4 separate regions of the Homo sapiens genome follow, and all the other regions are linked to region 3. Evidence: promoter capture Hi-C in 16 types of primary human blood cells and fetal thymus (Javierre and others, 2016). All regions are on one chromosome and are shown on one strand. Each heading gives the region's core, a stretch centred on a gene start or on the middle of the fragment in contact. The rest is flanking DNA. Distances are from core to core; before and after follow the strand shown.

Region 1 (3,543 bases), core at 453-2,952, 580 kb before region 3:
AACATGGCAAAGGAGATCAAAAGGGAAGTGGACATGTGTGAAGGGGGAGAAAAACCTGAGGAGCATCCTGTCTTTATTACAACCCACTCCCTGGAAACCAATCCATATCCATGAGAAGTAATCCAGTCTAGCAACAGTGAGAACACATGTACTACTATGAGAGTAGCACGAAGCCATTCATAAAGGATCCACCCTCATTACCCAAATACCCCCCACTAGGTCTGACCTCCAACACTGCCACACTGGGGATCAAATATCAACATGCATTTTGGTGGGGACAAACTAACTCTATGCAAACCATAGCACCTCTCCATTACTAGTGTTGAAAAACTTGATACTAAGTAGCCCTCCCCTTTCTAGTCATTTATAGTCTGCTACTGAAGATCTGAGAAAAACGGGATGCTAACCTTACCATTCTACAAACGCAGTTATTATACAATTACACTGTCAGGGATCCAGAAGTAAATAATTTGCATTCAAGGGCAGACATTCCAAGCAAGGAGGGCAATTTCAGCCGGTGTATTTGCTACTGGTTGTGACTATCTACCTGATGTCTTGAGATATAATAAAATGCACAGAATGGATCATTTCAAGGAAAAAGTGGGCAAAGACCAAAAAATAGTGAAATAGTGAAATAAGGAGCATCCCAGTGGACCTCCATGTCCTTCAGATGAACTGGGACACATTCTGAGTCTAGTTCCAAATTTCAGTTATTTAGTTATAAATAAACAAAGCAATGGCAAATAAAAACTAAAAAGTGCCAGGCGTGGTGGCTCACGCCTGTAATCCCAGCACTTTGGGAGGCCGAGGCAGGTGGATCACCTGAGCTCAGGAGTTTGAGACCAGCCTGGTGAAACCCCATCTCTACTAAAAATATAAAATTAGCTGGGCGTGGTGGCATGTGCCTGTAATCCCAGCTGCTCAGGAGGCTGAGGTGGGAGAATCGCTTGAATCGTGGAGGTTGCAGTGAGCCGAGATTGTGGCACTGCACTCCAGCCTGGGCAAAAAGAGTGAAACTCAGTCTAAAAGAAAATAAAAAGAAAAAAACTAAACTAAACTAAAAAGTGGGCAATGTATCTAGTTAGATTCAGAAAGCTGAATGACAAACAACAAGATCTCAATTGGGACAAGGATTGCTGATCTCATCTATGGGTCTATAACAGGAACATACCATGGGGAAACAGCAGAAGTTGTGAAAGCTTAGATACCTCTGGCTGGAGGATTTTCTTTATCAATCAGCTTGGTACTCAAGTATGGTCATTGCCTAACTGAGGTCGTGGGCCTGATCCTTCTGACTCAGAAGAAGGAAGGCAGCCAGGAGTTATTCATCTGCCTCTTTTAGATTGGACTGAATCTACATTCTGTTAGACACCATTAGCAATATAACTTTTCTTCCTCAGTTCCCTCACAAAATGAGAAGTAAAAGGTCATAGTTTCCTCTGAAGTAATTTTTTTGGGCCAATATATCAGATTGATTCTGAGCTTTTTGATGGAGTTTTGAGATTTGCTTATTAAGGATTTAAATTCATGCTAATAACAGAAGCCCAAGTGGAATAATGAGAGCTTGAATACCTAAGCCCTAAACCAGTGCATTTTAAACTTTAGTGCAAATGAGTCACTGAGGGGATCTTAGTAAAATACAGATTTGATTCAGCAGGCCTAGGGTGGGGCCGAGAGCCTGCATTTCTAATCTGCTCCCAGGTCATGCTGATACTCCTGGTTCATGGTCAGCATTTTTGCAGGAAGGGCAGAGGGCATTATTTTCAAATTTGGCTACATATGAGAATCACCTAGGGAGTTTAAAAAAAATGCTGATGCCAGGGTCCCATCCCCAGAAATTGTGATTTAACTGGCCTCAGGGTGCATCCTGGGCATCAAGATTCTAGAGCGTGGTAGAGTTTGAAGACCGCTAGTCTAACAAGTCTGCTCCCAGTTGCTTGCTGATTCTCTCCTGATTTCTTTTCTAGGAGAAACTGCTGTAGTCCAGGGTATATGTGAACTTGGGGACAGGTGCCTGGATTCAATCCTGCTGCTTTCCCTGTGGTTTGCCTTCCCATCTGGGAATGGGGCAATGATCCTGCCTACCTTAGAGGGTTGTTATGAAGATTAAGTGAGGTCTGATATACATGAAGAACCCAGAAAAGTGCCTGGTGTGATGCGTTATTACTTCATTATTATTTTCAACTGCTAAACAATTAAGATTCACTAAGCTTTAATAGATGGTTATTTGTTGTGAGGCCCACGAGTGGGGCTCAGAATGCCTTTCCTTCCAAATATGCTTACCAGAAGAAGTCATCCTACTAGTTTGTTGAGAACTTAAAAGGCAGAGATGTCATTCTGAGGGGAAGAAATTTAAGACCTACTCCCCCAAACTGGGTCACTGAAAGCAGGAATTAGGACACTGAAGATCCACTTCTACTTCCACAAACGCATTCAGGCATCATTTATGGAGTGTCCACTGTGTACATGATATTCTGCCAAGCCTTGGGGAGAATTACAAAACAGTTAGAAAGCACGGATGTTTAGCTTTCAAGAGCTTCTGGTCTAATGCAGAAGATAAGCTAGGCACATAGTCAAGTAGCTTCCTTATTGCCTACAGGACTCATTCATTTGTTCAATCAATATTCAAAGCTACTTGTTGTGAGCTAGCCACAATGCTAGGGACTGAGGTTACAAAGATAAAGGAAAAGAAGACGTGCTCCCCCCACTTTCCTCCCACTCCCCCAAGATGCTTATTGTCTGGGAGAAGAGATAGAAAACCACACAGAAAATTATAGAGCTTTGAAAGTACCTTGGGAATCCAGGAGTCCCTCCCCACCACCAGCAGACTAGGCTGCAGAAGAATGTCTGGGAAAATTCTCGGAGGAGGTGACATGGGGCTGCTCAACCCCAGGCTCCTTAGCCTTGCATTTGAAGCGCTTCCGGATCTTTGCCCCACTGACTTTCTCAGCTGTATCTCTTAAGTCAAGCCCATTTCCTATACTCATTCATGCTCTGCTGTCTGACTTTGCTCAAGATTGCAAGGTCCATGGCAGCAAGGACAGCATTTGTCTTCTTCACCAAAGGGTCCCAAGAGACTTGTGGAGAGCCTGGCTAGTCTCAATGCTTAAATGAATGAATGTGGTCTTTTGTTTGTGCAGGGACAAGCCTGACCAGCCTTGAAGACCCAAGTAAGGCTCAGCCTTTGTTTAGCCATCTCAACAGCAGAGACAGGTAACTGCCACTTACAAGATACTCCTACATCCTTCCTGAGCCCTACTAGGCTTGGAAGCCTGGTCAGCCAGGCAACCAGCCATGAGATCTGGAATTGGTGGTGCTGCCTGCCTTAGACACGATATACCTGCATCTGCCTCAGTTTTCCTTCATGACTAGACTTCTTCTCTGAATACCACTCTACCAGTCTAAGTCTTTCAATCAGCCTCCCAAGCCTTCCCCTTTCGGGACCAGATCATGTTCCCTTTATCCTTAGCTGTGTTTCTTGTCCTCTTCTGAACAGGCTGATGGCACAGAACCATGCCTGACTTTGTCACCAGTACTCTGAAC
Region 2 (3,533 bases), core at 142-2,641, 970 kb before region 3:
GCATGGTACAAAGTTAAGCATTTAAAAATTGGCTATAACCCACTTGGAAGAGGGCATTTGTATGCTTAAAGTGGCCTCAGAAAAGGACAGCAGAGAATTTAGGAAGATTAGCAACTGGACTGTCAGGCGAACTCAGGCTGTTGGCCTCAACTCCAAGAGGGAGCGCAGCTAGGCAAAAGAATACGGATTAAGCGGAAGAGGTTGGAACACCTGTCCAGGCCAGGTAGGGGAGGAGTTTCAATGCTGACAAAGAACCCGTTGGGAGAGCTTCCTAAAACACCCAGCTGTCATGACGCACTGAGGAGTACTCTACTAGTTGACTGTTTTGAAGTGTGTGTGTGTGCGCTTGCTTGCTTTAGGAGACAAGCTATTAATACTAAAGCATATGTTAGGGAGTTGCTCAGCGTACTTGATATCTAGTAGCACCAGCCAAACTAGCTAACAGCCTTTCCATGGAGATAGGCCAGGAAGTAGCTCCATAGAGAAAAAAGGAAGTAGTGGACCTGCCTCCAAGGTTCCGATACTGGGAGGTGAAAGAGATCTGAAGTTCCGAATAAGCTGTTTACACTACCAGAGAAAAATCTGGCTCCCATCCAACCCTCACCCACGAGGTGCCCATTCCAGACATGGGGCAAGCTGCCTTCTCATCTTCCGCAGGTGACAGCTCGGCTCACATTTGTCCACGTCTTCCATCTCGTGCGCTGGCAACATACCTAAATGATTACTGGAAGAGCTGCCTCTTTTTATAATTTCCTGACAGAATTTATAAAATTAAAATATTTAATTAAAGACAGAATCGGGGACATGTTGCCTTCACATTTGCTGTTCAACCTGTGCACATTTTGGTGGTTCCCAAGAATCGTCATGCCAAAGCATCAGGCTTGAAAGGAGAGATCACCTTAAGCATCAAGATTTAAAAAAATAAAACACAACTCTCCTCAGTCTAAACTCTAGGATTTGGATGACGCTTCCCTGTCAAGGTTTCTCCCGAGTGGAGGAGACAAGAGGCAGGAAAGGCAGGTAACTAAAATTGCCTCATGTAAAGGGGCTCAGCGCAGAGGAGGAATGAGATAATAGCGGCGGTGGGGGTCTTTTCCCTTCTCTCCCTTTCTATCTTGGAAACAGGGGTCCGACTGGCAGCGGAGTGGGGGCAGTCCAAGCTCCGGGGTACCTGCAGGAGGAGACTCGACCAGCGAGAGGGGCCAGCGAGGGTGACCAGGTGCCCGCTTGGGGACCCCGCCGGCGGTGGCCAGGCTAGCCCAGGTCCTCCCCGATCCCAGGATGCACTGCGCCCCGCCCCCTCCCCGCGCCGCGTTCCGCCTCCCCTCGGCCCCGGCCCCCTCCCGCCCAGCGCGGGGAGGCGGGGACGCGTCGGCGGCGGAGGCTTCTCCAGTCGCGTCTTTCTCACTCACTGGGGAGCCCGGCGGTGGCGGCACCTTTCGAGGTAGACCCGCTGAGCTGCTAGCCCGCCGGCCAGCGAGTGAGAGGTCGGACAGACTGTGGAGCCGACAGACTGAAGGACAGCGGCACCGCCAGACGGCCAGAAAGTTCCGCCATGAGCTGGGGCACGGAGCTGTGGGTGAGTCGGGGAGAGGGGCGCCCCGCACGGACCCCGGCCCCTGAGAAGCGCGGGTTGGGCGGGCGCCGCGGACCCTCGGCGGTGAAAGCGCGCTCCGCCGTCCTCGGTCCGGCGCTGGCGGAGGGTGAGGGTCCCGCTCGTCTTTGTGTGCAGACTCCTCTTCCCTTCTCGGCCGGGGGTCTAGGGGGCCGCTAGTCCGTGCTCCCGCCTTTGCCGCCGTGGTGCAGCTCGGGCGGCGCCCGGGACGGCCGGGGGAGCAGCCCGCGGGCTCCTGCGTGCGCCGTGATCCCCTCTTGTTCCTTCTCCCTCCTCCACCTTCACTTTTCCCGACGCCTGGCTTCGCGCCCGGCGGCTCCTCTCTTCCTTTGTATCTCTCCTCCCGGAGGCGGGGGAGGGGGCCCATTGTCCCCAAGGGGCGCTGTTCGAGGGCGGGGAGGGGACCGGCCGCGATTCCTCGCCCGGGCCAGGTCCGCGGGGCTAGGGCGTCGCCCGTCTGGGGCGGCGCCGCCCAGAGCCCTCGCCCCAGGTATGGGGACCCAGGCGGCTTTGTTCGGAGCCCGGCCTCGGGCCAGCCAGGCCCAGCCCACACGCACATTTCTCTCTCCCTGCCTCAGTGCTTCGGGCGGGCACAGCTTCGAGGGACTCCGGTTTGGCCACCCCCGGCTGCAGCCTTTGGGCTGGTGGGTTGGTTTTGGGGGCTGAATTAAATCGAGTGATCGATGAGGAAGCTAATTTTACCAAAAGGAGCGTACGGTCTCCCTGTTGCTTTACTTCCCTTTCCGTTCTTTATTCTCACTTGTTCTTTCTCCTTCGTTCTCTCCTTTCCTTTCCTCCTTGCCTTTCTTTGGCACAGGAGGCTCCAGACAATGCCCAGTGTCTGGCCAAGGTACGGGCGGAGGGTAATAGGTCGGAGAATTTGCTCCTGGCGCCGGCGCGGAAGGGTCGAGGTGTGGAGGGCAGTGATTTCTCAGGTGCGGAGGGCAGTGATTTCTCAGGTGCGGCCGGGAGAACTGGGGGCGTGGGGGCGCTGTCCCGAGAGCCGCCTGGCCTCAGCCACTCCCCTTTTTATTCCACCTGTGCCTGTTTTCCGTGCCTTTTGTTCGCGAGGATCTCGTGAAATCACTGCAGAGAAAGGGGAGAAATAACTTTTGAGTATGTGTGTGCCCAGCTAGGGTGGGAGTGAAAGCCAATGGGTTAATTGAAAGGCAAAATGTTTTCTTATTTTTCACGTCTACTCATAGATTGGGAATCTTAGAACTGTGAGACTTTAGAGTCCATCTAGTGAATGCTTTACTTAGCCAGCCAGGAATCTCTTGTGCAACATTCTGTACAAGTGCTTACCCAGTCTGAAAACACACCACCCAAGAGAAAATACCTTAGGAGCCCCTTCATTCCGTTTCTTAGATAGCATTAATTGTTCTTATATTGGGGAGGATTGCATGGTAAATGAATTACATAAAGTTTAATTCTTTTACATTGGTTAGTTTCTCAGGCATTATTGGCCTTTTTCCCTTACACTTTGTGCATTCTATAATTGATTATAGTGAATTATCAATGAAAGGAAATGGGTATAGTTTTATTTTAAATTTTTAAATTTTTTATTTTTTTCATGCCTACCAGAGTGCATTCATTCGTTTTTATAATTACAAAATATTTTAACTTTTGCCTACTTAAATGACTTGTGCTTCAAAGGAAACTAAAATGTAAGTAGAATACTTCTAAAAAGTAAACATAGGAAAACAGTGGAGGCATGTTATTTAGATTTAACTCTTAAGATTTTTAAAAAATTCACTTTGTATCACACTAAAGAATAACAGTTTTAAGGAAAAACATTTTAGTGAATAATAAAATGTGATTTTAAAAGTTTTTTTTTTAAACTTATGGTACTACCTAAGGAAACGATTCCATTCCTCTACTGTCTCCTATAATTTGGTTACTTTCAGCATTTAAAGAG
Region 3 (3,498 bases), core at 74-2,573:
CTCCTATTAATTTTTTCTTCTATTAATCTGCCTTATGTCAGCGGTTTTCAGTTAACTTTCAGAGGGCCAAAACCTTTTGTCCCTCCAGGTAATGAAAATGTCCACATGACAAATAGTGAATTAGTAGGAGCTTCAGTTCTGCATAATTTAGAATTCACTGTTGAGCACCTCTATACGCATGCCATTATTGTACCTCGTCTTTGTGATCCTCATAACCTGTATTAGGCAACAGCTCATTTATATTGAGAAAACACCTAGGGCACAGCACCACTACTTTGTAGGCTACTTTAATATGTATGTGCATTATGCGAGGTTTTATGAGCTTATTTTCTGACACACTTGCTTTTCTCCAGTTTCCTCAGCTGAAAACAGCGATTCACTGTTACTGTATATATGCTAGGCTCAATGCTGGCGATAACAATTCCTGCAACATAGGGTCAGACAGGAGAAGAATGTTGTAATCTGCAAAGCCCTTCTGATTCTGGGAGTGAGGCCAGCATTAATACAACGCACGATTGTTACTTCTGAATGTCCCTTTGCAAAGAACAGTGTTTCTCAAACTTTTTTCTGACCAGATCTGCATACATTTTACATCGCCGCTGGCGATACATACGTGCAAAACACTGAAATCGAAATTTCTCTAAACAACTCCTTTACTACGTGATGTACTGTGAAACTTTTCTATTTTGTTCTATTCTCAATTTTATTAAAAACGGAGGGTGATGATCCCGATCTACCAAACCAATTTCACAATGCGCTAGAGATTATAACCCGCGGTTTGGAAAATACTGGCTTGGAAAAAGCTCTTTGATCTGTGTCATTCTCCTCACATCTCCCTACACCTCTGCGGAGTTCCGATTGTTTGGTTTCGTCCTGATAATCACTGTGCTGTGTTTTCCCTACACGCTCTGTGACGGGGCCGTCCGCCTCCTTCCTGGGCTCCTTTAAGAGGGTGGTAACGGTACATCACCGCGGGAGTGGAGAGGCAGGGCCCACTAGGTCGTCGCTGCAGGCCAGGCCCGCTCATCCAGTTATTGTGAAAGCCGGGGTGTGCGCGCGAAGAGTGGGAGGGTAGGGGTGAGGCAGGGGCAGCACTGACGCCTCGCAGGGCTGAGTAGCAACAGCTCCTCCGCGCCGCGTTTCCGGAGACCCTGAAGGAGTCCGCGCGTGCGCAGAGCGCGTCCCGGGAACTGTTCCGCCCACGGAGGCTGCCGAGCGCGCTCCCGCCGGGCCAAAGTACAAAGTGGGCTCCAGAGCGCGGGCGGCGCGGCGGCGCGAGCCAGGGGGCGGTCCTGCGCGGCCGGCCCCGCCCTCTGCTCTCCTCCCAGTCTCCCCCGCGCTGCGTGCAGTAAGGTAGCCGCCGCCGCCGCCGCCGCCGCGTCCCCTCGCCGGCTCGCTGGTACCGGCAGTGCCATGGCGGCCTTCAGCAAGTACTTGACGGCGCGAAACTCCTCGCTGGCTGGTGCCGCGTTCCTGCTGCTCTGCCTGCTCCACAAGCGGCGCCGCGCCCTCGGCCTGCACGGGTAAGAAGGCCCGTAGCCGTGCAGCTTTCCCGGGCTGGAGCGGGCGCTCCCCGCGCGCTCTCTCTCCCCACCCGGCCGACAGGTCTCTTTGCCCGACGGGGTCGGGCGGAGAGAGGGCCGACCGCGACTGCCGTGGGACTTCAATGTCAGGGTGTCCGCGAGTCCCCGCCACGACGGCGTCGGTCCCAGCTGGCCTGTCCGGCGACCTCGCTCCACCCCGGGAGTGCGAATTCTTCTGTGCCCGCGGGCGAACCGGCGCCCAGCCAGCACTCAGGCAGCGGCCTCCAGTTGGGGGTGGGAGGGGGATGCGGTGTGTCCCCCACCCCCTTCCCTACATCACCCCCTTCTGTGTCAACTTTCTGGGTGTGTTCTGGTTTTGCCATCTCATCTTCAGACCGTGAAGGATTTGTTTTGGGGACGTGGATGTGTGATTGAGGATGGGGATTGGATTCGCCAGGCTGGAGGCTGGTGTCTAAGTCACTTGGACGAGGTTTGGCTCGATTCCCGACTAACTGCTATTGAAAGTCGCGAGGGTGGCTTCTATGAAACTATTCCCGGTCCACTTGGCAGGATTGCCGTCTAAAGTGGTGAGCCCTTGGAGTCGGTGAACCCTTTGGTCGGTGAACATTTGGTCGGTGGCATTTCATCCGGAAAGGCTGGATCGGTTCTGTCGGACTTAGAGGGAAATGTTTTCCTTCCTGGGCTCTGTAGGTGAAAGATGAGAGTGTGGTTTAGGTGAGGATCAAGCTCCTTTTTAATGACACGCCACTGCTTCCACCGCGGGAGAATTTCAGTGCTTAGATTTAACTTTGGGAGGTTATCAGTTCAGAAAAAGTAAAAAAGAGAGAGCTGAATTACGGTTGCGACATACAGGTATGTATGTCACATACATGCAATTTTTATTTGCTGGACAAGTGAAAGAGAAAAGGCTACTTCCCAAGCGTTCTTGCCAGTCATTGAATATTTCGTATTAAATCTTGACATACTACTTTCATGAATTTTATTTCATTCATTCCTCTGAGCAGGTACTGTTGCCTCCCGTGTTTGATTTGCCTACAATATCTAATTAGTAGTAAAATTTGGGCTAAAACACAAATAGACTTCTAGTTTATAGTACCCTTTCCATTAAGTTCTTTCTAGCCGCCTTCTGTTTTTATCTTACTAGAGTCTGAAGTGATGATCTTTCTTTTCCTTCCTAAATCCATTTAACAGAGTTGAAAATGATTTGCAGCATAGTCTGGGCAATAACAGCGCTTACTCATTTTTCTTCTATTCAGTTTGCTTTTAAAAGGATTAATTTGGGAAAATAAAAAGCAAGTTTTTCTGTTGGTTTGTATGAACTCCCAGTTGCAAATAGAAGTTACCTGTTACCTGGGAACATGCCAGTAGAAAGAAGATGTTAGGTCCTTTAACTTGAATTCTGTTTTTGCAAAGAAGTGTTTCAGGGCATAGAACAGGTGTTTTAATATGGAGGAGGGGACTCGAGGACAGCCCTACAAGTTCTGGATTACTTTTATGATTATATGTATATGTGATATAGTATCACATACATGCCACATACATATAGTACACATAGAGCTTGAAGAATTTTTACAAGTAGAACACACTCGTGTAATCAGCACCCAGATCAAGAAACAGAACATTATCAGCACCCCAGAAATTCTCCTCATGCCCCCATCCAGTCACAGTCCACCTAACTACTAAACCAGTTTGTAAGACCATAGATTATTGCTAAGGGAAATTTTAAACAGAATCTATTGGGAAATAGTAGCGATAGAAGTAAAATAATGTAATAGAATTTGTCTTATTAAATAATTTTAGCTCCTCATTTGCCATTGTAAAATGCCTAAAAAAATTTTTTTTTGAGAAACTTTGTGAGCTTTTGTGGGGATTAAATTCTTTAGCAGGAGATGTACTGAACAAAAGATTATTATTAGTCTTTTGCATTGGGATGAGTGGGGAAAATCTCTATTTT
Region 4 (3,408 bases), core at 364-2,863, 790 kb before region 3:
GTGATAAGATGTGGGAATCCATCCAAGGACAAGCTATAGATGGGCTGGGGATCCACAGCCCCTCTGGACATCCCCACCCCCTGCCCATAACTTCTCTGTAACAGTAGCAAATCTGGCAAACTTGGAGGCAATGGGTATCCAGTACATAAACCAGGAGGGAGATAAACTAGGGAAAGATGGGAATAGGACTTGAAAAGATTTTCTTTTTTTTCGCAAAACTTAGCATTCATGTCTCAACATTTTATATATGTATCCTGAATAGAGATAATAGAAATATAGCAGAATATACTTCTGATCCTAAAAATGTAAGGGGGGGAATGGTATAGATAGCAGGTGGTGGCTATTATATTTAAAAGCTTTACTGAGTAGCATGTGTATTCATCCTTTTAATGGATGTGTGAGCCAATCAGAATACTGAACACTGAATGGTCCAAGAGTAAGCAGGTGAATGACATGAGACCAAACAGAGTCCTTCCCTGAGACTTTTCAAACTAGGGCTGAGAGAGACATCCCCTTTTCCCCTTGGACCACAAGCCTTAAGAATATAAGCCTAGAGCAGCCCACAGCCAGGCCCTCACTGCATAAAGAAGCTGATGGAAGAGAATGTGGTCAAAGTGCTGAGAGAGGCAGATGCAAGAGACTAAGGTCCTAAAAATGTTTTCCTTCCCAGAAGTAGTCATCAACCCAGGCCACTCCACCCCTGCCCTTCCCAGAGGTAAGTTTCCTAGCTCACACCATCAATTTGGGTTTACAGGCTCACCTTATCAGTGTAAGATTAAAACTTGAGATGGAGATGTAACATACTGTGTCTGGCTCTGTTGGAGATTATGTGTATAAAATGTGATCTCTGTATCTGAGAAATGCTACAAGGAGCCAACATGAACTGATGTTACATGAAAACATGCATATTATACACCCATTAATAATAGGGTTGTACACTCATGTGTCAGCAATGAATGGAAATTAATGGTGTTTTGCAGTCTATTCCAGGGACTTCCATGGAAATAATTGAGTTGCCTTGAGTTTTCAAGGATAACAATACACGAATTTGCCTCTAGGAAGAGGGAGAGGGATTCATGTTGTTGGAATGTACTGTGCCACTGGTGTAGGGGTGAGTTCTGCTCCCACACCCAGCACCTCCCAGCCAGGGGAAAGCACAAACAAACTGCATTCTCAGCCCTGCTTATGTGGCATCAGCACCATCCTCAGCTCCTGGAGGATGTTTCCAAAAGGCTTTTCTGCTATGTGGAAGGCCACAGGACCCAATTTAGAGGTACTGGCTGAGACATCCCCTTATTGAGGCCAGGTGAGCTTTTCCCGGTACAGTCACCTGCGAGGGCAACCCTCATGACTTCTTTCCAGGTCAAAGGACAGGACGTTTACATCATCTCCAAATCACATTCAAATCTTCCCAAATGTGCTCCTTAGACAGTCCTTAGGTGGACATGGCCTGGAAGTTTGGGAGCCCCTGCTCTCAGTCTGTGTGGGCCCGTAGGGGTTTCCTTCTCCCCTTAAGAAGCCCTAGCTCCAACCCTGTCCTCCAGGGTTCAGCTACTGAAGCACTCATTAAAATGACTGGTGCCCTTGTCTGTTGGCCTCATGACCCATGTCTTATTGTCATCATTGGAATGCCTGAACATGATAGGGGCCCACTGAACATTTGGAGATAGCTCAGGGATTCTCAACCTGGGGTCCACAAACACCTGGAACTAAGATGTGCAGTAAGTGTGCATGCATATTTCTAGAGACGTGGCTCTTGTTCATGGTATTTGCAAGAAGGTAGGGGCCCTTCCCTGTCTCTCCAAAAATAGTTCAGAACTGCAGAGGCGTGAGGGATGACAGGCCACACAGAAGTCATGCTCCTCACCGGGTAAGCCAGCCTTGCCAGCCTCTGGCTGAATTACGGCTGCTTCCCACTTTGGCCCTAAGAGTCATTTTACGGCCAGGCGCGGTGGCTCATGCCTGTAATCCCAGCACTTTGGGAGGCCGAGGAGGGCGGATCACGAGGTCAGGAGATCAAGACCATCCTCACTAACATGGTGAAACCCCACCTCTACTAAAAATACAAAAAAATTAGCCAGGCATGGTGGCGGGGGCCTGTAGTCCCAGCTACTCGGGAGGCTGAGGCAGGAGAATGGCGTGAACCCAGGAGGCAGAGCTTGCAATGAGCCAAGATTGCACCACTGCACTCCAGCCTGGGTGACAGAGCAAGACTCCATCTCAAAAATAAAAGAGTCATTTTACTCTCTCAAACTTTGAACTAGCTGGGATTCCAAACTGGGAGAGGCTTCCAGAATGCAGTAATTCCCAACTCACACTACCTGTACTCTGTTCAAGTAATCCTGAAACCAGGAGGTAAGGGGACTTGACTCTATTCTGTCAAGGCTTTCATGTAGAGACCATGAGGAGACAGACAGGAGGGCACTGAACCAGGATGGATTCAGCTGGACCACACAGACCCCTTCAAAATACACCCACCTGGGCCTGGTAAAAATAAGAATCCGGCTGAAGACTGGTGGTCACAGGAAACAGTCCATCAGTTTCCTTATTTCTTCTGTACAAAAAGCTCTTTTGAGAATGTGAATGGGGGCTTTATATAGTAAGTTCTCATCCACAGGCTAATAAATATGTGAAATGGCTTCTCAGACCAGGTTCCTGCAGCCTGGACACTGAGGTCATTCAAGAAACAATTAGATGCCATCTGGAGAGGGCTGGGACTCGAAAGGAAATTGCCTTGAAGGGCCAAACAGCATGTTCTCATTCCCAGGGTCTGACACATCCTTATCTTCATTCACATAAAGGATGGATGGAGCTCAGCCAGCAAATCCACACTGGGAGCATAGAAGGAGCCAAGGCTGCAGCAATTAATAAAAGCTTAAGGATCAGGAGAATGCGCACTTCCAGCCTGTCCCAAGTAAATGGATCCCTGCAACAAATTTCTCCCTCGACTACACTTGCATACTCAGGCAGAGCACCTTGCCATAACCCAGCCTTGGCCTCACCAAGCTTGGGGTTTTCAGAGTTTTAATATAAAGCAATGAGAGGAGAGTTACAATTGCTTCTGGCCTAGCACTTTATAGTATATGATGAGCAACCAGATCTTTACAGTATATCATGACTTGGTTATGTTACATAGAGTTAGCATTTCCAGAGGTGTCACAATCCACTCCACTGCAAGGAACAGGCCCACAATTGAGAACCCTTACTTCAAGGATTGACTCTCAATTTTTTCCTTACTTTTAAATGAAAATTTAATGTCTTTCCTACATTAAAAACAAGTCTCTTTAAATGTAAATGCAACTGTTGGGCAAGCTGAGCTTAAAAGTAAACTTTGCTAGAGAAATAAATATGGATTTAGATAAACAAGAGGGGATTATTTGTGTTTTAAGTGTTTTTGCAGCTTTTAGT

Evidence for each region. Contacts are between HindIII fragments. The CHiCAGO score rates a contact against its expected background, and 5 or more counts as called.
Region 1: a contact is called between a fragment that was not itself captured here and the fragment with the promoter of ABCD3 in region 3, in 2 of 17 cell types (non-activated CD4 T cells and naive CD8 T cells). The highest score is 6.7, in non-activated CD4 T cells.
Region 2: a contact is called between the fragment with the promoter of FNBP1L here and the fragment with the promoter of ABCD3 in region 3, in 4 of 17 cell types (naive B cells, total B cells, naive CD8 T cells and 1 more). The highest score is 7.9, in naive B cells.
Region 4: a fragment that was not itself captured here is called in contact with the fragment with the promoter of ABCD3 in region 3 in 1 of 17 cell types (total CD4 T cells); the score reaches 5.5 in total CD4 T cells.

The regions. Positions count from the first base shown.
Region 1 is chr1:93,838,263-93,841,805 of GRCh38, forward strand. It overlaps a transcript of BCAR3 not described here. Among named protein-coding and RNA genes, the nearest start is that of MIR760, 6.8 kb to the right of the region's middle. RefSeq lists a silencer at 1,118-1,318. The HindIII fragment of the contact is 1,011 bases long and covers 1,198-2,208 here.
Region 2 is chr1:93,446,727-93,450,259 of GRCh38, forward strand. FNBP1L (formin binding protein 1 like) reads left to right here and starts at 1,392. Exons shown (of 17, transcript NM_001164473.3): 1 at 1,392-1,579. The coding sequence starts at 1,556. RefSeq lists silencers at 266-560, 1,500-1,549 and an enhancer at 1,041-2,019. The HindIII fragment of the contact is 14,675 bases long and covers 1-3,533 here.
Region 3 is chr1:94,417,066-94,420,563 of GRCh38, forward strand. ABCD3 (ATP binding cassette subfamily D member 3) reads left to right here and starts at 1,324. Exons shown (of 23, transcript NM_002858.4): 1 at 1,324-1,523. The coding sequence starts at 1,414. RefSeq lists enhancers at 513-1,304, 1,776-1,915 and a silencer at 1,066-1,445. The HindIII fragment of the contact is 10,166 bases long and covers 1-3,498 here.
Region 4 is chr1:93,622,989-93,626,396 of GRCh38, forward strand. All of the region lies in intron 3 of BCAR3 (BCAR3 adaptor protein, NSP family member), which reads right to left. Among named protein-coding and RNA genes, the nearest start is that of BCAR3-AS1, 33 kb to the left of the region's middle. The HindIII fragment of the contact is 2,518 bases long and covers 355-2,872 here.